6 separate regions of the Homo sapiens genome follow, and regions 1, 2, 3, 5 and 6 are each linked to region 4. Evidence: promoter capture Hi-C in 16 types of primary human blood cells and fetal thymus (Javierre and others, 2016). All regions are on one chromosome and are shown on one strand. The core of a region is centred on a gene start or on the middle of the fragment in contact, and the rest is flanking DNA. Distances in the headings are between cores, read along the strand shown.

Region 1 (4,297 bases), core at 1,798-4,297, 2.1 Mb before region 4:
TGAGGCCAGAATCATCCTGATACCAAAACCCGGCAGAGACACAACAAAAAAAGAAAATTTCAGGCCAATATCCCTGATGAACATCGATGCGAAAATCCTCAATAAATTACTGGCAAACCAAATCCAGCAGCACCTCGAAAAGCTTATCCACCATGATCAAGTAGGCTTCATCCCTGGGATGCAAGGCTGGTTCAACATACGCAAATCAATAAATGTAATCCATCACATAAACAGAACCAATGACAAAAACCACATGATTATCTCAATACATGCAGAAAAGGCCTTCGACAAAATTCAACAGCCCTTCATGCTAAAAACTCTCAATAAACCTAGGTATTGATGGAAGGTATCTGAAAATAATAAGAGCTATATATGACAAACCCACAGCCAATATCATACTGAATGGCCAAAAACTGGAAGCATTCCCTTTGAAAACTGGCACAAGACAAGAATGCCCTCTCTCACCACTCCTATTCAACATGGTGTTGGAAGTCCTGGCCAGGGCAATCAGGCAAAACAAAGAAATAAAGGGTATTCAATTAGGAAGAAAGGAAGTCGAATTGTCTGCAGATGACATGATTGTATATTTAGAAAACCCCATCATCTCAGCCCCAAATTTCCTTATACTGATAAGCAACTTCAGCAAAGTCTCAGGATACAAAATCAATGTGCAAAAATCACAAGCATTCCTATACACCAATAATAGACAAACAGCCAAATTGTGAGTGAACACCCATTCACAATTGCTATAAAGAGAATACCTAGGAATACAACTTTCAAGGGATGTGAAGGACCTCTTCAAGGAGAACTACAAACTACCACTTGAGGAAATAAGAGAGAACACAAACAAATGGAAAAACATTCCATGCTCATGGATAGGAAGAATCAATATTGTGAAAATGGCCATACTGCCCAAAGTAATTTATAGATTCAATGCTATCCCCATCAAGCTACCATTGACTTTCTTCACAGAATTGGAAAAAACTACTTTAAATTTCATGTGGAACCAAAAAAGAGCCCGCATAGCCCAGACAATCCTAAGCAGAAAGAACAAAGCTGGAGGCATCACACTACCTGACTTCAGACTATACTACAAGGCTACAGTAACAAAAAGAGTATGGTATTGGTATGAAAACAGATATATAGACCAATGGAACAAAACAGAGGCCTCAGAAATAACACCACACATCTACAACTATCTGATCTTTGACAAACCTGACAAAAAGAAGCACTGGGGAAAAGATTCCCTATTTAATAAATTGTGTTGAGAAAACTGGCTAGCCATATGCAGAAAGCTGAAACTGGATCCCTTCATTACACCTTATACAAAAATTGACTCAAGATCGATTAAAGACTTAAACATAAGACCTAAAACCATGAAAACTCCAGAAAAAAACCTAGGCAAATACCATTCAGGACATAGGCATGGGCAAAGACTTCATGACTAAAACACCAAAAGCAATGGCAACAAAAGCCAAAACTGACAAATGGGATCTAATTAAACTAAAGAGCTTCTGCCTAGCAAAAGAAACTATCATCAGAGTGAACAGGCAACCTACAGAATGGGAGAAAATTTTTTGCTGTCTATCCATCTGATATACAGCTAATATCCAGAATCTACAAAGAACTTAAACAACTTCATAAGAATAAAACAAACAACCCCATCAAAAAGTGGGTGAAGGATATGAACAGACACTTCTCAAAAGACGACATTTATGCAGCCAACAAACATATGAAAAATAGGTCATCACTGGTCATTGAAGAAATGCAAATCAAAACCACAGTGAGATACCATCTCATGCCAATTAGAATGGCGATCATTAAAAAGTCAGGAAAGAACAGATGCTGGAGAGGATATGGAGAAATAGGAACACTTTTACAGTGTTTGTGGGAGTGTAAATTAGTTCAACCATTGTAAAAGACACTGTGGTGATCCCTCAAGGATCTAGAACTAGAAATACCATTTGACCCAGCAATCTTATTACTGGGGATATATCCAAAGAATTATAAATCATTCTACTATAAAGACACATGCACACGTATGTTTATTGGGGCACTGTTCACAATAGCAAAGACTTGGAACCAACCCAAATGCCCATCAATGATAGACTAGATTTTAAAAAGTGCCACGTATGTACCATGGAATACTATGCAGCCATAAAAAAAGGATGATTTCATGTCCTTTGCAGGGACGTGGATGAAGCTGGAAACCATCATTCTCAGCAAACTAACACAAGAACAGAAAACCAAACGCCACATGTTCTCACTCATAAGTGGGAGTTAAACAATGGTAACACATTGGGGGGCATCACACACCAGAGCCTGTTGAGGGGTTGGGATAGCATTAGGAAAAATACCTAATGTAGATGACAAGTTGATGGGTACAGCAAAAACCACCATAGCACGTGTATACCTGTGTAACAAACCTGCACGTTCTGCACGTGTACCCCAGAACTTAAAGTATAATAAAAAAAGGACATACATTCAAGTACCCAGTCTAATACCTGATGCATAGTCAGTGCTTTATAAATAATTATAAAGCTATTAATAGTATCATTGTTGAATACCTACTATCTGCCCAGCACATGTATTAACTAATTTTACCATTTCACCAACCTTATGAGAATGGTGCTCTTATTTTATGCATGAAGTAACTGAGCCACAATAAGTCTAAGGAACTTGGCCAAAGTGCACAGCTAAACAGGGCTGGAATCCATCTATACCCAGGCAATCTGCATCCAGACCCCTTCAACCACGGTGCTGTATTGACCCACTAGCTCTTCCTTTTACTTCCGGGCAACTTGGAGTGTGGTGTTTTTCTCTCTCAGAAAAGTCATGTTATCTTTTCCGCTTAACACATGTATCCTGGCTTGAATTAAATGTCTGTAAATGTGACAATCTCTTTTAAGTTCCACAGACATCAAATGACACTATTTTTTAGTCAAATACCATGGACAAGCTTAAGGGACTCATAATTCATTCATTGTGCTCTTATTGAGTGTAAAAATAACGTGTTTTCTAAGAGGGCAAAGTTATAACTTCGAAGAAAGTGTGAAGCCAGCAGGTCTCAGGAGGGAAAAGGAGCTTAAAACAGCTCAACACAGTGTTTCTGATTGTCACAGTCAATGAAATTATGGAAGCTTACTTATAAGGGACTTGTGAAAAAAGTGATTTGGGGCCTGGCACCATGGCTCATGCCTGTAATCCTACCACTTTGGGAAGCTGAGGCGAGAGGATCGCTTGAGCCCAGGAGTTTGAGACCAGCCTGGTCAACAAGACGAAACCCTGTCTGTACAAACAGAAATTATCAGGGTGTGGTGGTGTGCGCCTGTAATCCCAGCTACTTGGGACGCTGAGGCAGGAGGATCGCTTGAGCCCAGGAGGTTGAGGCTGCAGTGAGCTGTGATTGCACCACCGCACTCCAGCCTGGGTGACAGAGCAAGACTGTCTCAAAAAAAAAAAAAAAAAAAAAAATGACTTGACTGGGCATGGTGGCTCACGCCTGTAATCCCAGCACTTTGGGAGGCCGAGGCAGGCGGATCACAAGGCCAGGAGATCGAGACCATCCTGGCTAACACGGTGAAACCCTGTCTCTCCTAAAAATACAAAAATTAGCCAGGTGTGGCAGTGTGTGCCTGTAGTCCCAGCTGCTGGGGAGGCTGAAGCAGGAGAATGGCATGAACCCGGGAGGCGGAGCTTGCAGTGAGCCGAGATTGTGCCACTGCACTCCAGCCTGGGTGACAGAATGAGACTCCGTCTCAAAAAAAAAAAAAAAAAAAAAAAAAAAAAAGACTTGAGGCAGATTTCTTCGTTTAAGTGGTGATGTTTCATTTCTACATTAGTACTTGAAAAATCTGATTAGTGGAGTTTTCTGTACTTATAAATCTCAGCTGCTCTTTTTCGGCATGAAGTATGTAATAACATCTGTATATGCCAAGTTAACAAAAGGTTTTTCCTGCTGTCACTTCATTTTAAAACACTCTTTTCAGTGAGTGTATGTCCCAGTAACTGCACATACTTCTGTCCCCAAAGACAGAACACCGCCTCCTTTCTCCTAGGAGTATCGGATATGTAGTCACGTTTACCATGTTCTGAGCATTTTGCAAGGTAGTTGTACATCTCCCCTTTCCCTGGGGGGATTAGCCAAGGAACTGAATTATTCATTGCTTGATAAAGATTAAATTGTGTTTTTATTTAACACCAGGTCTAATTATTGATGCTTTTGGAGAACTAAGAGACCAACAGGAACAAGTCAAAGAAGACATGGAGGTAAGCTTCTCCATTCATGACTCAGCTT
Region 2 (4,449 bases), core at 1,282-3,781, 2.0 Mb before region 4:
CCCTCCCATTGCCAATTACAGACTTCATGGGAAATTAGAGTTGCCATATTCTAGTTTACTCACCAGAGCCTTTGGAGTTTGTTTTGAGTTTGTGTCAATTCTATAGAAATGAATTAAGACAGAGGAATGGGAAGTGAAGCTTCTGGATCTGTAAAGCTTCTGGATCTGAAAGTGGCAAATGCCCCAGTTCTTTCTTTCTTCCAGGCCTCATTAGCTCTGGTCATGCCCTCCTCACAGAAGGCAGCTTAACCCTGAGTCTACAGGTTTCATTAAAATTGCTGAGTAATCGCATGAGAAAAACCCCTACGATAATAGGTATTGATCTTCTGGCATAGTTATTATGATTTTAAATTATAAATCACATCTAGTCAGGTATCAACCAACATCCACAAGGAAACTATTGGTTCAAAATGTATTTATGTATGTATGTATTTATTTATATTTATTTATTTTTATTTTTTGTTTTTGAGACAGAGTCATGCTCTCTTGCCTAGGCTGGAGTGCAGTGGCACGAGTTCGGCTTGCTGCAACCTCTACCTCCCAGGTTCAAGCAATTCTCCTGCTTCAACCTCCGTAGTAGCTGGGATTACAGGTGCGCGCCGCCACACCTGGCTAATTTTTTGTATTTTAGTAGAGATGGGGTTTCACTGTGTTGCCCAGGCTGGTCACGAACTCCTGAGCTCAGGCAATCCACCTGCCTGGGCCTCCCAAAGTGCTGAGATTACAGGCGTGAGGCACCGCACCAGGCCCAAAATGTATTTACTAAGTGGCATCTACATGCTGGTTGCTATGGGTACAAAGATTAATATTAATAGCAATAAAAAGAATAATATGTATATAGTGTATACTGTGTGCCAGGTACTATCCTAAATATACATATATATTTAGAATATATACATTTATGCTAGATGGGGTATGTGTGTATATAAATATACTTCTTTAATTCTCACAATAAAAATTATCTTCATTTTACAGACAAGGAAACTGAGGCAAAAGGAGGTTAAGTAACTCACTAGAGGTAAGACATTCTGAAAGAATTCACTCTGGTGGGGAACAGACACAAAGAAACCACACAACCATGTGATAATGCGATTACAGAACATGTAAGAAGTGCTCTTACAGGGAAGGAAGACAGCAAGGTGCGAAGAACACCTTCTGGAGGAGATGAGAAGCCTTCCTTAGGCAGATGACATCTGAGTGACTCTCGGAAAACGAAAAACAGCTTTCGAAATAGGACAGGCAGGGCATACAGGGCATAACAGAAAGAGGTCATCCAATCTATAGCTTTATTCATAATTGCATCATATTGAAACAACCAAGATGTCCTTCAGTAGGTGAATGGATAAACAAACCGTGGTACATCCAGGGAATGGAACCTTATTCAGCAATTCAAAGAAATGAATAATCAAACCACGAAAAGACATGAAGGAAACTTAAATGCATATTCCGAAGTGAAAGGAGCCAATCTGAAAAGGCTATATACTGTATGATTCTAACATATGCCATTCTAGGAAAGGCAAAACTATAGATAGAGACAGTAAAAAAGATCGGTGGTTGTCAGGGATTAGGGGTGTGTGGGAGGAGATGAATAGCAGAGGACAAGCAATTTTTAGGGCAGAACGACTTTTCTGTATGATACTGTAATGGATATATGACAATATTCATTTGTCAAAACCCATAGAAATTACAACACAAAGAGTGAACCCCAATGGAAACCATAAACTTTAGTTAATAAAAATATATCAATAATGTTCCAATTGTAGCACATGTACCACAGCAATGCAAGATGTTAATGCTATGGGAAACTGGAGAGCAGGGAGAGGAGGAGGAGTATATGGAAACTCTGTACTTTCTGCTCATCCTTTTTGTAAACCTAAAACTTCTCTAAAAATTAAACTCTATTGAAAGAGAAATAAAGGGAGAAATAGCCTTCAAAATATTACAGAGAGAGCATTATAGAAAGAGGGGCATTGAGTCTTCAGAGTGCTTTCCAAAACCTGAATTAATCGTGGAGTAGGAAATATTAAGTCATGAGTAATTTATAACTTAGTATAAATTATTAGTTCATTTTCCTTGCTGCTGTCATTAGCTGGTTTCAGGATGTGAAGAAATGAAGATTCCCTTGGCTGCAAGTGAAACCTAGCTCAGACTCCCTTCGAGTAAAAGGAAGTGTACTGGCTGACGTAACCTGGAAGTCCTAGGTGCCACTTCCGGCATCGCTGAATCCAAGAGTACAAATGAAGTCACTGTAATGCATCTCTCTACTCACTACTTCCTCCTTCTCTCCCTCCGTCTCCCTCCTCCCCTCTTTCTCTGTCGTGCCTCAATTCGATGCACTTCTATCAGGTTGTCTTTAAATAGTGTAGTGATAGCCCCTAGCAGGTCCAGGCTCATGTGATTTTTTTAGTTCTTCTGAGGGGAAACTGTCTTCTCTATGTACAGGGGTTCCTGGGAAAGACATGAGGCTGGAGAGCCAGGCTGGTAAACAGACAGCAGCCAAAGCAGGCCTGAGGATGAAGAAGCAGGTCACAGAGCAAAGTCACTCCATAGGAACCAGCTAGTGAGGTATATCACCATCACCCCTACCACTTCAGGACTCAGTGAATGGTACCCCGGTTACGCTTTGGCCAAAAAATAAGAGCAAGGACATTAGAGGCAATAGGGCCCTGACCTATGTACTGCTTTTCTTATTCTGCTGTGACTGAATACTGTGCCTCCAGCACCTATACCATTCCTATTTCAAGACTACTTTTTGAGAGTCACCTTAGTGGAGGAGACAATGAAACCCCCGTTTGAACAGGTACCAAATCCCACAGCTTTAACTCTATTTGTGCCTTATGTGAAAGGGTCACATGAATTTAAAAAATGTATATTCTAATTTTTCCCATTGTGTTTCTGCAGATCTTGCCGATCCAGAGTCAGTGACCCAGGCCGCAGTTTGAGAAAGTGATAGCTGATAGAATGTCCCTATGGCTGCCTTAGGACACTCAATAAGCATCTAGTACATGAGAAAAATTACATCTGCTTTGCCTCTTATTCTTCTCCAAGGACTCTAAGAATCTAAGTTGTGACACCAAGATAGAAAACAAGATAGTAAAATAATTCTCTGTTATCATCATCTTCTACATTAAATAACTCCCCTAGATAGCTCTATTGTCTAGAGGTCAGTGATGTCCACCAGAACTTTCTCCAGTGATGGGAACGTTCTTAATGTAGTAGCTACTAGACACACATATAGCTACTGAGCAGGAAGTGTGGCTAGTGTAAACTAGAACTGATTTTTAAATTTTATTCCAATTAATATGAATTCAAATTCTACACATGGCTAGTGACTGTCTTATTTGACAGCACAGGTCTTTACAGTCTAATGTTAACCCTTACTAACAGAATGTGCCCCACCCACAATTAAGTGGCCATGTTTTGTGTTACATGACCTTACCCTCCCACCTGATTGGACCACAGGCAGTTACCGGCCCCCAGGACAGCCAATCACAGGCTGCTAATGATCTATACTGTGAAACCTGACTCCATAGGTGAGCTACACCAATCATATTTCTCTCTTTGGATTTTGGAACTGGGAAATTGAGAGGGGATTGGCTATGGGAGCTGAGCTTACTTCATTACACAGACTCAGGGCCCCGGTGGTAACTATGGGCCACCTGCAAACTGGGGCTATGAGAAAACAGGAGTCCTGGTATGTGTTAAAAGGGAGAGCTGGCTGCTGCAGATCGGGGAGAATGGGGTCAGACGTGCTCACAAGAGCAGAAGCTGTGAGGGACCCTCACGGCCCATGAGAAAGAGGCAGGAAGCAGCCTTGGGTTTTCTCTTTGGGGCTTGGCTGTATTTCAGCATGTGTTTATGGCCGCTCACAAGATTCTCTTATTTATTTCCTGGAAATGCGCTCCCTTAGCATAAGCCAGAATGAGTGGAACTCTCTTTCCTGTCATCTAGACCACTTTTAATGAAATTATGATATTGTAATATAAATTATAAAGAAAAGCATGTTATGCACCCTAGAAGTCAATATATTTTTGAGCTGGAAGGAAATTAGGAATCATGGAGTTTAATCTCATCATTTTAAAGATGAGATGGAAGCTATTTTGAAATGTTGCTGTCTAAAGTCACAGAGCTGGTTTCTGAGAAATTTTCAAGTATTAATTTGCTTTCTGAAAGTTTGTTAGAAAAACCAAAATGAAACAAAAAAATCTGTCACTGTAGTTTTTGAGAGAAAAATAAAATACAGTAGTGGATGGATACCTCAGTTTTAAGATGAATCTAACTTTTTAACAGGGCTTACTAACCTAATGGGGTTTCGTTAATAGTTAAAATCCACATTTTACAGGTGTTTGCCCCTAAGTGAATAATTCAGGGTCTCTGTTTTCTGCAAAATATCCTCCCACCCAAATATTTCTGGGGGGCCATGGCGTGTCTCCTGCAGGGTATCGAGGA
Region 3 (4,423 bases), core at 37-2,536, 2.1 Mb before region 4:
CAACGGGTAAAACTATTTCCCAGAGAACATTTGGAAGCCTTAGTTTTTTGTTCACCTTAATGACTTTAACTGAAATTACTAAATTTCAAAAATATATCTCTTCCTAGAACTACTGGTTTTTGCTTTTATATTGAGTATCTTGGCTTAAATGTCTTTTTTGGTCTTGGTTTTCAAAAATCAACAGCTGTTAAAGCTTTCATATTGCTTTATATCGCTGTTCTACAACCTGTCTCTCTAATATTGGCAGCTGAGAGGTAATCATACATGAGATCTTAGATCAGGAAGGGGAACATGAGACAAAATATATATCACTAGCTGGAAAGAGATGTATCCTTCAGTAAGCTCCTCACGAAAATACCTACATCATTTGTGTTGGGGATGTAGGTATAGAGGCTGATATAATGATACATAAATTACTCTAGAAAAAATAGCCCAAAAGATTGATGAGAATGACCAGTATTACAAAGACTAACAATTAAGATAATTTTATACTAAAGAATGACAACTCAGTGGGACAGAGTAGTTCAGAAACAGATGCAAATACTCACGGAAATTAAAAGATGATAAAGATCTTTTGAAGTAATGAAATGAAAAATAATTTAATAAATGACATTAGTACCATGGACAAGCTATTTGGGGGGAAATGATAAAAATGGATGCCAACCTTGCTTTTTAAATAAAAATAAATTCTGAAATGAGCATATTTTAATGCAATAAGAAGGAATAATCACAAGACAGAATTTGATGCCTTAAATAATAGTAATACTCATTTTTACATGGAGAACGGTCTGAGTATGACATAAAACTCAGGATCTATGAAAGCATAAACATTATTTGAAAAAAGAGCAACTATAAATAAAGTCGTAAAGGCAAATGGTAAACTGGGAAAGATATATTTAACACCATAACAAAGGGCCATTTTCCTTAATCTACCAAGTCCTTATCACATCAATAAGAAATAAGCCAATAGAAGAACAAGTAAGTCACATGACCAGACAATTCACGGTAAAATTAATTCAGTGGGCTTGCAAATTTGAAAAGACGCTCAGCCTCTGTCAAAGTGAAAGAAATGCAAATTAAAACAATGAAAAAAACACTTTTTACCTATCAGGTTTGCAAAGTATTCACGTTTGTTAAAACCCACAGTTGGTGAATTGATGGGAAAAATCAGCATTTTCATGACTCTGGTTGGGAGGTTGAATTGACAACAATTTTAGAGAAGTTTTGTGACACCTATCAAATTTTTAAGTATATATATCCTTTGACCTATTAATTCCACTGCTAGTACTTTACCTAAAGGTTTACTCACAAACAAGCCTCTGTATGTTCAAGAACATTAGCTGCCCTCACAAGCTAGGAATAATCTAAATGATCATTAGTAGTGTCCTGATTAAGTCAGTTACGATAAATCCATAACAAGTATGCATCTGTTTGAAAATGAGAGAAATTCATGTATACAGATATGGAGAGATATATAAATTACATTTTAATTAAATTACATTTAATTTAAAAAAACAAGATCTTGGATCAGTAATGATAGGATCCTAATTGTGTGAAATTATATATACACAATAATTCATATTTTTGATATGCTGGAATATGCATAACATTTTTCTGGAGGGATTTATTCATAGGACACTGTGAACAAGGATTCCTACAGGGGTAGGACCATAGATCACAGGGGAAAGAAACTTGTTTGCTTTTCATTTTATAGACTTTACTCCTGTCTGAATTATTGATACTATTTCTTTTTACCATAGGTATTTTTTTATTTTTAAAAGCCTAAGACAGTTTTTTCCCCACCATGTTATAGAAGATAATCTGCCTTCAGTTATTCCCACAATTAGTATAACTACATGCAGTGACTGTTCCCTGGCAGGGAGGAGAGAACAGAACATACAGGTGGCTGACCTGAGGGAATTAAAGGACAGAGGTTGAGGGAAGCTCTGCTGAAACTCGATGTTACATTTTGATCCACTGCCTGTTCTTGAGCCATTTATTTATAGCCCAAATCTCTTATTTGTGTAAAGAAGTTTTTCTGTATTTAAAACTTTATCATAAATGATCATTAATATAGAATTGCCCATCCTTTCTCTCCTTTAAACAAGTATTCTTTTATTTACTAATTTAGAGAGCTTCAGACAAGATTGTCATTCTTTAGCTTTTCAATATTAAGCATTTTGTTCTCTTCCCAACTTTCTTTTTAATAAAAAAAATCTTAAGAATAAATAACTCTCAAATGAATTGCAGGTTAGTTAAAAATTGGGGATACATAATAGCTTGCTGACATAAAAATATTCACTTTTCTTAGGTCAAGATTAAATTTTCGAAGGCTTGGAACTTCAAAAAGGGATGCTTTTGATGGAGAATGCAGGGGGAAAAAGCTTTCAACTCATCCTTCCACACATAGTTGACAGCAGAGCAAATCATATTGTTCATGTGAAAATCATCTGTAATTTTCAACATTTCCTGTCACGATTGCCGTTCTGAGGTGTTTCACATGTGACTTTGTGGTTTCCACGTGCTAGTGACCTACTTGGAGGACACGGAGTATCAGAGCTGAAAGGACTCTGATGTTCATGGTTGTTCATCCATAAACTTAATTCCTCAACTGGAAGAAAATGCCATCCCAGTTACAAATCCACAGTCTTGTAGATTTTTTTTATTTGTCAAGTGCTTATATAGCACTTGGCTATAAATGCTATTGTCCCAGGCATTGTCTCAAGAGCTTTACAAATATTAACTCAGTAGTCTCCTACCAACTTTCTGCTGCAGGTTGGCACTGCTATCATTCCCATTTTACAGATGAGGAAACTGAGCTACCAAGAGTTTGAGTAACTTGTCATAAGTCACACAGTTAGGAAGAGGTGACACTCTTCAACCAGTACTCTAAGTTACACTACCTCACAGATAGTAACTTCATTCATGCTTCTGTCATTAATTTTAGTGCTATTTTTATACCAGGCACTCGTTAAGGATAAGGCTTGAGTAAGTACAGTCCCTGCCTTCATGGAATTTGCATGGTAAGCACCTTTCTAGAAATTCTGCTAAGCTCGTTCTTTTTTCTGGGATCCTCCAAGAAAAGAGTGCCCCAGAAATTCCAGAAGTTTTGGAAAACCTTGTGGATCAGTATTCCTATCGCATACAGAACATTTAATATACTATACAAAAATAGTGGATTCAACATCACTGCTCAAATATTGCAATTGAGAAGTTGCTTTAGGTGGCTGGCTACTAGACAGGGAAATAGAAATAACTTATTAATGTCACATGATACCACAGGGTGGAAGATATTGATACGGACATAGATCAAGTGCCTTAATACTTGAGATCCATTTTAGTCATCATAAGTTGTCATGACTGAGATGTAATACTTACTTACATTTGCTAGTCTTCTTCTCCGATTAATTGCTGGACAAATAATTCATGCACCTTGCCTGGAGCCTCCTCCCTGACTGCCTTTCTATCACCCCCTGATTTGGCCCACCTGCCCACTTCTTAAAACCATCTCCTATCCTTCCTTTTGCTGCTTTTCTCGCACCACAAAGCAGAGAAAAATGTATAAGTTTTTTTTTTTTTTTTAACTTACAGCAACTGTAAGAAAACTGGATTCAATGCAATAAGACTGACCCGTTACTAGTGACGACTCTCCATCAGAGTCACTAACATGCAACACTTTACCCCCTCCTCCCACGCCTATTCATTCATTCCAGGCCTAGGGCTGAAGATGTGTTAAGGATCCTTCATCTCCTCTTCCATGCGCTGCCTTTAATATCAGCTGTGCTCAGAGCCTTTCTACCCTGTGACCCTGAAGGCAGGAGGGGAGTGGGAGGCCAGGAAAGGCTACAAGGCACAAGGGAGGTGCAGAAGGTAGCAGTAGCAGGTACATTGCCTGCAGTGACTTCCAGGAAATTCAGTTCTATTCTAGGACAAACACCCGACAAAATTTATAAATCTCAATATCTACCAGCCTCAGGGCAGAAAGTTTACTTAGGTTATGTATTCCTAAAGGCTATGATGCTCAGAGAATTGCTAAAAATTAATAGAAAAATAGGAATGATTTCAGATAATGGCATTCAGTGACCTGTATCAGGTAGTGAGAACAATATGTGACTTTAGATCTTCCTTTTGTACCACAGGGAGACCCCAGCAACATCCTGGTCTCTCCTTTTATTATGCAGTCGTCATAGTTGACCCCATTCAAGTTGTAATCATAGGATCCTTAAACGACTACATTTTGAACCTCACTCTCAGTATGCATTTCCATTACTTTTGTTAATTTTGCTTAGGAAGACAACTGCCTTCACCTGGTTGATTTTGCCTAATTTCATGGGGGCATGAATACAGAAGACAGAGAAACTTGGTTCCGGTGAGGAAATACGGCCTGTTGATGTTCTGAACTATGGACTTAGCTAGAGCCTAG
Region 4 (4,211 bases), core at 427-2,926:
TGACTCTGTTTGATATCCTCCGCGAACTGCATGACTGAGCTAAGCTGAAGTTCCTGGTCACCAGCATGGGGAACGGGTAGCTGCTTCAGCGCCTGCTGGCAGAGAGGTCGTTCTCCGAGTCTGCTTTGCCACCTAGTGGTTTGATGTGGTATTGCCATTCACCAGGTAGTTTTAAAAGTCATTTTAGCCGTTGAATGCTATAGTGAATTATGACAGAAAACAGAGACACTCTAAGCAAAGAAGGCAGTCAGAGACCCAAAACAAGCCCTGAAAAATGACGCAGACTGGATTACAAATAGGGAAGAGGCACTAAATAGTTGGTCTGAGAAAAAACGCACGGCTGTATGTTGCAAAGATATTTTGGGTTTTTCCCATATCATCACTTAAAAAAATAATTATTATTATAGACGTAGAATTAATTTAGACTTCTAGAAAAATTTATACGCTTTTAATTGGTTCAGCAGGTTTAAAAATCGAGAGCCCTCAAACATTTTTCCCAAGTAGGTACTGCCCGGTTGGCTCAGAGGACATGAAATGAGTTTATCTCCTTGGAATTCATTATAACCAGAAGCCTCACATGTATATTGGCCTTGTCCGTTTCTGTAAGCAATCTCACATGTATTTCACACTGGATATTTACACATTTTTAAATTTTTTAAATTTACCTATATATTTCACAGACTTATAACCCCAGAAAAGTTATTTTTTGCCATAACTAGGGGGAAGAAGGCAAATTTCCTAGAACTAACCTTCAATTTCTCCTAAATTCAGTACTGTCAAACTTTTTTGTCTTTTTTCACATTTTTTGTTTCACCCTCTTCTTTTAAATATTAATAAAAGATGTCAAAATATCCACTGCAGTGGCTTTCCAACATTATTCAACACAAAATACATTGTACGTACATCATGACTATAGACATAATTTTATACGTGTGTGTATGTCGAGCAAAAATTTAATGAAGTGATATTGATTGTCATTATGTGGTATGCATTCTGATACGTCCTATTCAATTTGCTGTACATTTTTTTCTTTTTTAATTCTCATATTGGCCCACTAATTGGCTCTTGCATTTTGAACTCAGTGTGTGTGTGTGTGTGTGTGTGTGTGTGTGTATATACACACACGCATATATATCTATTGAATTTAGTGTGTGTGTATATATACATAAATACATATATACATATATAAACACATATACATATACACACATATACATATATACACACATATCTATACACATGTATGTATATGATATGTATATACATACGTATATATGTGTGTATATATACTCACACACATGTATATATACACACATACCAAGTTCAAAATGCAACAGCCAATTAGCGGACCAATTAGTGTGTGTGTGTAGTGTGTGTGTATATATATAGTAAGTTCAACATGCAATGTATATATACACTAAGTATATGTACATTGTATATAAGTAAGTATACTAAGTACATAGTATATATACACGATATAAGTACACTAAGTATATCGTATATATATACTAAGTATATATACATACACACAGATGTAACTTCCCCACAAAGGCACTGATGGTACCCACGTGCAGGATCTTGCGCAGTTTTCCACTTCTTGCCTGAGCTCTGGTGCCTGGAACACTTCAGTAACCATTCCCTGAATGTTGCACCCACAACCTGGCAGGGAGGGAGCCTGCTCTGACCCCAGAGAGGAGCCAGGCACCTGCCCCTGGTCTGCCCCTATCTGACCATGCCCTGAGCCCTCATGCAGGCTGCATTCCTAGAACTCTTGCCTGGGATTACTTATAAAGTGCGAAGGTCACTGGGCTGACAAGGATCTCTGTTCCCACCACCTGTTTATTCCTGAGCATTACAAGGAAAGACTTCCTGTAGGTCCCCTCACCAATATCATTCAATTCAATGAGTGTAGACTGTGAACTTCCTTGACTCAAAATATCCTAATGCTATGGAATAGCTGTTGAGTCAGGATGAGGAAGGAATATTAAACATAGGAATGATACCTTCTACTCAGAAAATCACCGTAAACTGAGGGCTCTTAGCCCGGGGTTATCACTGCTTCATTTGGGTCTGACCTACAGTCTTGATTCTCAGGAAGTTACATATTACCTATGAAATAATAGATATACCTGAAGTAAAACATTTGGTGACTCTCATTTCTAATAAGTACTTTTAGATATTCTTTTTTTTTTTTTTTTTTGAAATCCTTATGACCGGCTGATCACTTTCTCCTGTTGTCATCCTGGGTACCGATAGGACCTCCGTTGCTGAGCCTCCAGAGAACAGTCCTTTTAATGAGGCCGTGGCCCCAAGGCCTCGGAGAAGTTCATAGAAAATGTCTGAAAGAAGGTGGGAGGGATCTTGTTTCCTGGCCCTATAGGGACATTGTCTTCCTTGATAAAGCTGGGTACAGCCTTGATATGAATAGATTGGGGAGCACCAGGAATGTACCTCACCTGGGCTGTCGAGAAAAGACAGTGTGCTCAGAAGAGGTATGGCAGGTGCTGAATATTCCCTTGGAGGGACGAAGGCAAGAAAGGCCCCTACAGCAATGAGGGGAGAAAATCCACAACCCAAGTAGAACTAGGATTTCTTATGTGTGAGACAATACATTGCTCATTTACATGTAAAGTGTGTATAATATTTTTAATCCATCGTATTCAGGCGAGCAAGATCAGTCATTTCATTTTTGTATAACTTGCCTCGAAGCTGCCTGTTGTGGCCCCATTCTGCATAGCAAATCACCACAAACTTAGCAGCTTACAACAAGGTTCCCTGTTCAGGGTCTCAACACTGAAATCAAGGTGTTCGCCCAGCTGAGTTTACGTCTTAGGCAAGACTAAGGAAGAATTCATTACCACAGGCATTCAGGTCATCGGTGCTTCTGCCATGGTGACCTAGTGACCTCTGAGCAGCTGCCACCTCTGGGCACCAGACAGGAGGGCATGAGGCACGCATCTTCTTTGAGTCTGATCAATATTATCAGATGCGACCTCTTTTTCCTCCAACCTTCTCCGCATTTAAAAGCAACAGCAGAGTGTAAGGCAAGATTCCAAGCCCTCCTTGGCAACCATCACCAATATCTGCCCCCTTTTAACTCTCTTCTTCACTTCCTTCTGGCTTCGGAAACTTTGGGATTTTTTTTTTTTTCCTCATTCGGGACATTACAGATTGAGCTGAAGTCTTCTTTGTCCATCACCCTCAATCCTAATTTTATCTTCCTCCTCCAAAATACCACTGCTAATATATGATTTGCATGTAAATCTTTCTATCCTTCTATGACAATTTTAATTATATTAATATACTAAAGGTGGTATCTGTCTATATGTCTGTATACAACCTTTAGTATACAGGCATGTACAATCTTTAGTATACTATTGCTGTGTTTTATTGTAAACTAAATTTTATCGTGTTGTATTTGTCATCCCACAACTTGCCTTTCTTACTTAACAAAGTATTTTTAGATGGTTCTAAGTTAATATATATCTAGTTGATTGCTTTTATCTGCTGCATAGTATTCCCTTTTATGAATGACCTCATTTTTGAATTCATTTCAAAACGAATGGTCTTATAGATTTTCCTCATTTTTGTCATAAAAATAAATGCTTCAGTTAATAGCCTTGGGCGTGTCTCCTTGTGTACATACGAATGCAATAATTTCTAGAGGGTAGATACCTAGCAGTTGGATTGCTAGTTCATGGTGTACATGCCTTTTCAGTTTTAATTAATACTTCCAAATCACCTTTTTGTAGTACTTATTATCAATTTATTCACTCTGGATGTGGCAAGGGGAGATTTTTCTTATTTTCCTAGTGTGTAGGTCAGTATACCATGCATTGATGCTCAGAAGACCAAGTGTTTGCAGTTTCAAAGCCCTTATCTTTAAATCCCTTCTCTCTACCAGAGTATTTAAAATCTACTTTAAAAAGCAAAAAATGAGGAAACACTGGTTTCTTTCTCCCTGTGTTTCTAAAGTAACAACACAACCCTGAGAACACAAAAAGTTAGCATTGGGAGAAGGGAGGCAAGATCCCCGTTAATACTTCAGAGTATTAGCCTACAACACCACAATGCTTCTTATCTTCTCCATAATCTACAGATCAGGCGATAGTATTCTAGTTTTATAGATGAAGAAAGGTCGTCTCAAAATAGTCAAGTAATTTGGTAAGTTTATACATCTCCTGGGCCAACCCAGAACTCAGACCCAAATC
Region 5 (4,620 bases), core at 1,070-3,569, 2.1 Mb before region 4:
AGCTAACCAGGGGCGGGGCAAAAAATCTCTACAAGGAGACCTACGGGGGCAAAAGATCTCTACCAGGAGATCTACAGAACACTGCTTAGGCCAGGCACAGTGGCTCATGCCTGTAATCCCAGCACTTTGGGATGCCAAGGCGGGTGGATCACCTGAAGGCAGGAGTTCAACACCAGCCTGGCCAACATGGTGAAACCCCATCTCTACTAAAAATACAAAAATTAGCCAGGCATGGTGGCGTGCATCTGTAGTCCCAGCTACTCGGGAGGCTGAGCCAGGAGAATGGCTTCAACCTGGTAGGTGGGGGCTGCAGTGAACCGAGATCATGCCACTGCACTCCAGCCTAGGTGACTGAGCAAGACTCCATCTCAAACAAACAAACAGCAACAACAACAACAAAAACACTGCTTAAAGACATCAGAGATGACACAAACAAATAGTAAAACATCCCATGTTCATGGATAGGAAGAATCAATATTGCTAAAATGACCATACTGCCCAAAGCAATTTATAGATTCAATGCTAGTCCTATTAAACTACCAATGATATTCTTCACAGAACTAGAAAAAAATATTTTAAAATTCATATGGAATAAAATAAAAGAGCTCAAATAGCCAAGGTAATCCTAAGCAAAAAGAAAAAAAGAGGCCGGGTGCGGTGGCTCACACCTGTAATTCCAGCACTTTGGGAGGCCCATCTCTACTAAAAATACAAAAAAAAAAAAAAAATAGCTGGGCGTGTTGGCAGGCACCTATAATTCCAGCTACTAGGGAGGCTGAGGCAGGAGAATTGCTTGAACCCAGGAGGCAGAGGTTGCAGGGGGCTGTGATCGCACCATTGCATTCCAGCCTGAGTGACAGAGTGAGACTCCATCTCAAAAAAGAAAAAAAAAAAAGCTGGTGGCATCATGCTACCCAACTTCTAACTATACAAATAGGGCTACAGTAACCAACAGCATGGTACACTGGTACAAAAATAGACACGTACACCAATGGAACAGAGTAAAGAACCCAGAAATAAGGCCGTACACTTATAGCTATCTGATCTTCGACAAACCTGACAAAAACAAGCAACAGGGGAAGGATTCCCTATTCAATAAATGGTTCTAGGATAACTGGCTAGCCATATGCAGAAGATTGAAACTAGACCCCTTACACCACATACAAAAATTAACTCAAGGTAGATTAAAGATTTAAATGTAAAACCTAAAACTAGAGAAACCCTGGAAGGCAACTTAGGCAATGCCATTCTGGACATAGGAATGAACAAAGATTTCATGACAAAGACACTAAAAGCAATGGCAGCAAAAGCAAAAATTGACAAATGGGATCTAATTAAACTAAAGAGCTTCTGCACAGCAAAGGAAATTATCAGTAGAGTGAAGAGACAACCTACAGAATGGGAGAAAAATTTTGCAAACTATGCATCTGTAAAAGGTCTAATATCCAGCATTCTATAAAGAGCTTGCATTTACAAGAGGAAAACAAACAACCCCATTAAAAAGTGGGCAAGGGACACGAAAACACTTTTCAAAAAAAGACATACATGTAGCCAACAAGAATATGAGAAAAGCTCAATATCACTGATTTAATGCAAATCAGAACCATAATGAGATACCATCACACACCAGTCAGAATGACCATTATTGAAAAGTCGAAAAAAAAAATAGATGCTGGCAAGGGTGCAGAGATAAAGGAATGTTTATGCACCATTGGTGAGAGTATAAATTAGTTCAACCATTGTGGAAAGCAGTAGGGTGACTCCTCAAAGAGATAAAAGCAGAACTACCATTTGACCCAGCAATGCTATTACTGGGTAGATACCCAGAGGAATATAAATTATATACCCAGAGGAATAGAAACCATTCTACCATAAAGACACGCACATGCAAATGTTCATTGCAGCACTATTCACAATAGAAAAGACATGGAATCAACCTAAATGCCTATCAATGGTAGACTGGATAAAGAATATGTGGTACATATACACCATGGAATACTATGCAGGCATAAGAATGAGATCATGTCTTTTGCAGGAACATGGATAGAGCTGGAGGCTATTATCCTTAGCAAATTAATGCAGGAACAGAAAACCAAACACTGATGTTCTCACTTATAAGTGGGAGCTAAATGATGAGAACTCATGAACACAAAGAAGGAAACAGCAGACCCTGGGGTTTACTTGAGGGTGGAAGGTGGGAGGAGGGAGAGCAGCAGAAAAGATAACTATTGGGTACTGGGTTTAATACCTGGGTGACAAAATAATCTGTACAACAAACCCCTATGACATGAGTTTAGCTATATAACAAACCTTCACATGTACCCCCAAACCTAAAATAACAGTTTTTTAAAAAGTCATTTTCATGATAGCTTAAGCTAGTTTGAACTGAGTTATTACTTGCAATAAAGATGTTTGAACAGATACATTAGGACCATGCCTTTAAGTAACTAAAATTTCACAATGTGTTTTAATATATAATACATCAAATTCTCCATCCATCATCCTTTCACCAAAAAAAACTCTTGACTTTTCTAATGCTCCTCTTTTCAGATAACACTTTAAATCGTTTTGTCAAGTTCCAAAAGATTTCCATTGTGGCATTGGTAATATTTTTTGTTAAAATTATCAATAAATTTTGGAAAACTGATATAGTTATAGTTTGTTGATTTAGAAACATGTTGAATGCCCAGTTTATTCATGTTATTTCCTGTAACTACCATTAATCTGTGGTTTCACAGTTCCTTTATTGTTTCACAGTTCTAGAGGCTAGGAGTCTGAAATCAAGGTGTTGGTAGCATTGATTCTTCCTGAGGCTATGAGGGGGCATCTGTTCCATGCCTCTTTCCTCTCTTTTGGTGGCTTATTGGCACCTCTCTTTTGGTGGCATTCCTTGGCTTGTAGATCCCTGCCCTCATCTCCATGTGGTATTCTCATTCTCCCTCTGTATCTGCCTGTGTCCATGTTTCCCCTTTATTATAAGGCCACCAGTCATATTGGATTAGAGCCCACCATAATAACCTCATTTTAACTTGATTACCTCTGTGAAGACCCCATCTCAAAAAAAAGCCACATTCTGACATACGTACTCAGGGCTAGGGCACCAACATATCTTCTGTTAGAAGGATACAGTTCAACCCACATGAGACCTGAAGATTTTGGATTTCTTCATATAGGTCACTGCTTCCTCAAACCGAATTCGAAGATATATTCTTTGATGTCACTAAATTCTCTATAAGAATGTAAATTTTTACTATCTTGATTTGAAATTAATATAAATAGATTATTCATGCCCATTAGTTTCTCTTACACGAAACAACTACAACAGCAATAATACCCTGCGTTAAAGAGGCGTTGCTGGGAGTCTGGGGATGCCAAGGTGGTTAGAGTTCTATGGGGGAAAGAACCAGGGAGGAGAAATGGAGAGAGACCCCTGTGATGGGCCGAGGGTCCCCCTCTAGTCTTCAGCTGAATACTGGCCCCAGAAGCACGTAGGGAAACTACCTGAGGCCAGGAAAGGAAGCACCTACAAAAGTTTTCTCAGGCTAAATGCAGGAAAAAAAAAAAGAGAGAGAGAGAGAGATTGATGTTAGAGAGTCAAAGTGTAGAAAGAACTGGAGCCACTGTTGGCTTTGGAGATGGAGGGAGTCGGAAGGCAGAGAATCGGGTGGCCTCTAGAAGCTGAGAATGACCCTGGCCAGTAGCCAGCAAGGAAGCAGAAACCTCTGAAGTTGCATGGAACTAAAATCCTGCTGATGTCCTGAATGAGTTAGTTGGAAGTGCGTTTATCCCCAGAGCCTCAAAAAGGAGCACAGTCCTGCCATTCCTTGAGTCCAATCTTGTAAAACAAAGTCACAGAACCAGCTGTCACTCTGGGTCCAGAATTCTGACCTACCAATCTATGAGAGAATAAATGTTTTTTGCTTAATAAATGATTGTTGACTGTTGTTTTTTGTTTGTTTTGTTTTGTTTGAGACAGAGTCTCGCTCTGCTGCCCAGGCTGGAGTGCAGTGGTGCAATCTTGGCTCACTGCAACCTCTGCCTCCTGGGTTCAAGTAACTCTCCTGCCTCAGCCTCCCAAGTAGCTGGGATTACAGGTGTCCACCACCACGCCCAGCTAATTTTTATATTTTTAGTAGAGACGGGGTTTCACCATCTTGGCCAGGCTGGTCTCGAACTCCTGACCTCGTGATTTACCCACCTCAGCCTCCCAGAGTGCTGGGATTAGATTGTTAAGATGCCACATTTGTGGGGATTTGTTATGATAGCAACAGAGAAACTAACATTAGTAGAGGCACAATAATATTGCAATATAGTGTCTGAGGTGAAAAATACATGAGAGAGAATTAACAGAAGTTTAGACTGAGTAAGACAAGACTAGTGAACTTGAAGAAACAGCAATAAAACTACCCCAAATGAAATACAGAAAAAAAAAAAAGACTGAAAATGGGGACTTTATTTAAAAAATGAATGGAGCATCCATACACCCAAGCATGATCTCAATAGATTGTTGTGAAGAAAAACACACTCACGGTGCTTTTTCCTATTCTATGCAAAACAACAGATCAACACAGAAGACTTCTGTGACCGAATGTGTGGGGTTGCTCTCAACCAACAAGCAAG
Region 6 (4,286 bases), core at 1,083-3,582, 2.1 Mb before region 4:
GGTAAATGAATGAATGCTTTATTTAAATTGACTGCAGGTTTCAAGCCTGTTGATTCAGTGACCTTTTCATAATGTTTTTCACCCTCAGAACTATTTTGCTCGCAACTTTTACAACATGAGAATGTTAGCCTTATTTGTCGCATTTGCTATCAATTTCATCTTGCTCTTTTATAAGGTACGTACATCTCACTGTTTTAATTACTGGTATAAAACTCCAAATAGAAATGAATGTAAAGATTTCACGATGAACGTATCTACTACTGCTAGTGAACATGTCTAAACCTATTATGAAATACTGGTGCCTAGGCACTGATATCACTGTTATCTAGGAAGGCAAGATAGATTTGTTCCTGAGAAGTGAGAAATGCCTCAACTGAAGGGCATTTGATTTAGCAGAGGGCTTCCCCACAGTATTCCCAGCCTAATTTAGCTGAATATCTTATTTGTGACTATGCCTGGGTGTGGCATACCGTATTATATTACATTCTTTTGTAATTGAGAAGAGAGCTTAGCCATCTAATTTTTTAGCATGCATTGGAATCCTCAGAATTTTTGGTTGAATAAGAATGAATTTTAAAAGTATGTTCATTACTTGCCTTTGGTTTTTGAAAAGCTATCGTTTTTAGCCTTTGCTATTAGTCCTTTCATTATGCAGTGACTTCACATCCAACTATTTGCTGAAAAGGCTGTATTTCTTTTGTCTTTTGCTTGCAATGGTATCTTAGATGCAGCAAACTGACTCTACTTTAAATGCTTTGAATCAGGTCTCCACTTCTTCTGTGGTTGAAGGAAAGGAGCTCCCCACGAGAAGTTCAAGTGAAAATGCCAAAGTGACAAGCCTGGACAGCAGCTCCCATAGAATCATCGCAGTTCACTATGTACTAGAGGAGAGCAGCGGCTACATGGAGCCCACGTTGCGTATCTTAGCTATTCTGCACACGGTCATTTCTTTCTTCTGCATCATTGGATACTACTGCTTGAAAGTAAGATAGTAAGGCACCAAGGTACCTGTGTGTGTGTGTGTGTGTGTGTGTGTGTGTGCGTGTGTGTGTGTGTGCGTGTGTGTGTGTGTGTGTGTGTGTGTTTTGCAGGCTGGACTTCTGGGGAAGCAGATTCTGAGCTGGAAACTTTGTGCACAAAGTTTCTGAGGGAATGCTCCATGAATCAACATGCATGGGGCAAATGGAGGAAGGATGGGACAGAGGGGAAAGCTGGGCTACTGTAGACAGACACAGCAGGTGCCGTCTCCAAAGCTGGGATGCCCCTTCAGGGCTGTCCTGGCCTGGGGCATTGGAGCCTGGCCTTTTTATGTCTACATTGACTAGTCTGCCCTGGGAAGGGGCTATGGCCATGAGCTGTCTTAAAGTAGCTTTCTTTCATATACTGATAATTATTCACATAGAGAATTTCGCCTATAACTTGGCCCTACAGAAGTGAGCTCACCCACCCACTATGTCTCATGGTAATGCAGTGATACTTGGTGTATTAAGACTTATAGAAATATATTGTGTCAATCCTGGGAGTCATTTTATTGTTTTATTATGAGGGAAGTATCTACTGCTATTCTTGGCAGAAATGCCTCATGATTTGTCACACTTCACCCAGAAAATAATGCAGCTTTATCCCCAGAGGCCTGCCAAGGGAACAATATAATTTGGTGAATAGAACCCAAGATAATCTCTCTGAGTGCTCAGGGCTGCCCATTACCTGTCCAAACCTCTTTATCTTTTCCTAGCAAGGTGCTTTTTTACTGTAATGCCTTTATTTCACTTTCACTGTCCTCTGCCTCTGGTTATAAATCTTGCAGAAGACGTGTGAAAAACCAGGGCTCAGAGTAAAAGACTAGAATGTAAAGAGTTATTCAGGAACTCCTTTCCTCCCGTTTATTCTGTTTTATGGGAGTGCATATTCTTGGCTATTTCCAGAATATCAGTGTCTATCTGCTATCTGTGCCTTGTGTAAAGTCTGTCCGTGTAAAAAGAGAATCATTATGTTCTAGAAAATCATTATGTTCTGGAAATATTTTGACAAACTGACAGATTTTTGCTGATGTCGAAATTAAAATTTATCTCAAAATAGTATGTGGTGATGCTGAGCATGAAATTATTAAAGAGGTTTCTCAAATAAAACTGCACTTTAGTAGCATGCATTTGGGAACATTGCTGCAATTGCTAAATTTTATTTCATTCATTCATGTTGAGAGATATATGTAAACAAAATGATTTTGCATAATCATCTTTTCATCTTTGAAGTTTAAAAATGATTTCACTAGTGTAATTATCTATAAGACCCTATGTGTTTAAAAACATATGCATATATGTAATATCTATTCTATCTTCTGTTTTTCCAAAACCTTCTAGATGCTTCTTCCTGCTTGAATATAGCTGATTCATTTTCATTCCATTTTTACCTTCCTAGAAGTACACAGGAAATATTTCTTTCCAAAAGCTGTTTTGTAAAGATAGTGACCACAAGATATGCCAGTAAATCTAAACTAATTTTAACGTATTTATTTTTCCTATGTAGGTCCCATTGGTTATTTTTAAGCGAGAAAAGGAAGTGGCACGGAAATTGGAATTTGATGGGCTTTATATTACAGAACAGCCTTCAGAAGATGATATTAAAGGCCAGTGGGATAGACTCGTAATCAACACACAGTGAGTAAATAATTATATGAGACTTTCTGCACTCAAAAATTTCAGACATGAAAATATTTGGTTGGAGTTCCTGCAGATTTGTCAAAAGTTTAGCAGAGGTGAATAATAGTTATATATTCAGCCAAGAAAAATCTAAAGACTCAGTGCTGTCCAACTCTTAATGGTGGATGTCCTCAATTTTTGCCCTCTGAGTTCTGAATTCCTTAATTAAAAATGGCTTAGAGTTCATTTCCACAGCACTGATGGAACTTCACATCCATTACTCAGCGTTCAGGGATGTGTGTAGCAGGAAGTGCATGACCTGCAGGCAGGGTTATCTCATCCAAAAGCAGAGGCAAAAATTATTCATTAACGAAAAAGTTGTAGCATTAAAGGAAAATGCATTGAATTTTACACCTTGAATATATCTGAGTTATCAACTTTCAGTACCATCAAGCACCCTAGCATGAAACTAACTAAATATTAGGACACGGTGTAAAATGTAAGACAGAAAAACAAATGCTTTTTCTATCCAATAAACATTTAGCCCTGTGAGATCAAGACCCAAACTACTAGCTGCTGTTCTGAGTATAAGTCCATCACAAAAGTATAATTTTTCACTGTAAAAAGAATTAGTGCAATAGTTGTAATAGTTTATATTTACTATTCGAGTGAAATCTTTTTAAAATTGTGATTAGTTTTGCTAATTAAAAAGTCATTTGCTAATGGGTTCCGAGTTGTCAAATGGAGATTATTTATACATGATACATGTTTATCCTAAATGCTAAATGTTTTGTTTAGCAATTCTACCATTAATACTAATTTCTAAGCAAGTCAGTCCCTTTAGGCAAACTCTCTATGTATTAGTGAAGACGCTAGAGTTGTGCTTTGCTGCTATGCTCGAAGTTTCTGTGAGGATAAGTGGTGGGAAAGAGATTTTTTTCTTCATGGGAAAAACAATGACAGGTTTCTAGATACTTTAATTTTTAAAGGCAATTGATAAACAGGTCTATGTACTGATATGTTATAAACAAATAAATATAACAATGCTACCTAATAAATATGCTCATATTCTTCTCCATTAAAGTATCAGCTTATAATCTTTTGTATATATTTACATGTTAATATTTAAAATAATATTCAAATACCTATGATGCAGGAAATTATGTGATGTTAGCCAAATTCATTGTAAGTTTACGTGGCAGGATATATGTTTACATATTATTTTAAGTATGCCATATATCCCAAATGATATGTTATTATTTGTCATTAAAAATAATACTATTTACTTCTATGCTTTTGTATATTTTAGGTCATTTCCCAACAACTACTGGGACAAATTTGTTAAAAGAAAGGTAATATTACTTGGAATCCTCTACATTTTTCTTAAAGCACAGTTTAGATTTTTATTTGATGTGATTCAGATGTAGAATAAGATATTGAGGTATAATTTATCTGCCTATTAATGTCTCCATTTTTTTTTTTTAATTTTTGAGATGGAGTCTCACTCCGTCACCCAGGCTGGAGTGCAGTAGCGCGATCTCAGCTCACTGCAACCTCAGCTGCCCAGTTCAAGCAATTCTCCTGCCTCAGTCTCCCGAGTGGCTGGGATTCCAGGCGCCTGCCACCACACCCGGCTAATTTTTGTAT

Evidence for each region. The method cuts DNA at HindIII sites, captures the fragments that hold promoters and counts their contacts. A CHiCAGO score of 5 or more calls a contact.
Region 1: a contact is called between a fragment that was not itself captured here and the fragment with the promoter of CHRM3-AS1 in region 4, in 1 of 17 cell types (endothelial precursors). The highest score is 7.8, in endothelial precursors.
Region 2: a contact is called between a fragment that was not itself captured here and the fragment with the promoter of CHRM3-AS1 in region 4, in 7 of 17 cell types (megakaryocytes, M0 macrophages, M2 macrophages and 4 more). The highest score is 15.4, in megakaryocytes.
Region 3: a fragment that was not itself captured here is called in contact with the fragment with the promoter of CHRM3-AS1 in region 4 in 13 of 17 cell types (naive CD8 T cells, non-activated CD4 T cells, naive B cells and 10 more); the score reaches 33.6 in naive CD8 T cells.
Region 5: a fragment that was not itself captured here is called in contact with the fragment with the promoter of CHRM3-AS1 in region 4 in 1 of 17 cell types (M2 macrophages); the score reaches 5.1 in M2 macrophages.
Region 6: a contact is called between a fragment that was not itself captured here and the fragment with the promoter of CHRM3-AS1 in region 4, in 3 of 17 cell types (total B cells, endothelial precursors and total CD4 T cells). The highest score is 9.1, in total B cells.

Annotation. Positions count from the first base shown.
Region 1 is chr1:237,824,177-237,828,473 of GRCh38, forward strand. It overlaps RYR2 (ryanodine receptor 2), which reads left to right. Exons shown (of 105, transcript NM_001035.3): 102 at 4,205-4,269. Among named protein-coding and RNA genes, the nearest start is that of ZP4, 65 kb to the right of the region's middle. The HindIII fragment of the contact is 181 bases long and covers 2,958-3,138 here.
Region 2 is chr1:237,859,958-237,864,406 of GRCh38, forward strand. It overlaps the pseudogene LOC100130331. Among named protein-coding and RNA genes, the nearest start is that of ZP4, 29 kb to the right of the region's middle. The HindIII fragment of the contact is 4,755 bases long and covers 155-4,449 here.
Region 3 is chr1:237,809,329-237,813,751 of GRCh38, forward strand. All of the region lies in intron 100 of RYR2 (ryanodine receptor 2), which reads left to right. Among named protein-coding and RNA genes, the nearest start is that of ZP4, 79 kb to the right of the region's middle. The HindIII fragment of the contact is 2,191 bases long and covers 192-2,382 here.
Region 4 is chr1:239,898,196-239,902,406 of GRCh38, forward strand. CHRM3-AS1 (CHRM3 antisense RNA 1) reads right to left here and starts at 1,677. Exons shown (of 2, transcript NR_046582.1): 1 at 1,569-1,677; 2 at 1-197. The region is part of intron 6 of CHRM3 (cholinergic receptor muscarinic 3); the gene reads left to right. The HindIII fragment of the contact is 7,774 bases long and covers 1-4,211 here.
Region 5 is chr1:237,843,298-237,847,917 of GRCh38, forward strand. No RefSeq gene overlaps it. Among named protein-coding and RNA genes, the nearest start is that of ZP4, 45 kb to the right of the region's middle. The HindIII fragment of the contact is 5,945 bases long and covers 1-4,620 here.
Region 6 is chr1:237,791,341-237,795,626 of GRCh38, forward strand. RYR2 (ryanodine receptor 2) reads left to right here. Exons shown (of 105, transcript NM_001035.3): 93 at 89-175; 94 at 765-983; 95 at 2,527-2,657; 96 at 3,949-3,991. Among named protein-coding and RNA genes, the nearest start is that of ZP4, 97 kb to the right of the region's middle. The HindIII fragment of the contact is 5,160 bases long and covers 1-4,286 here.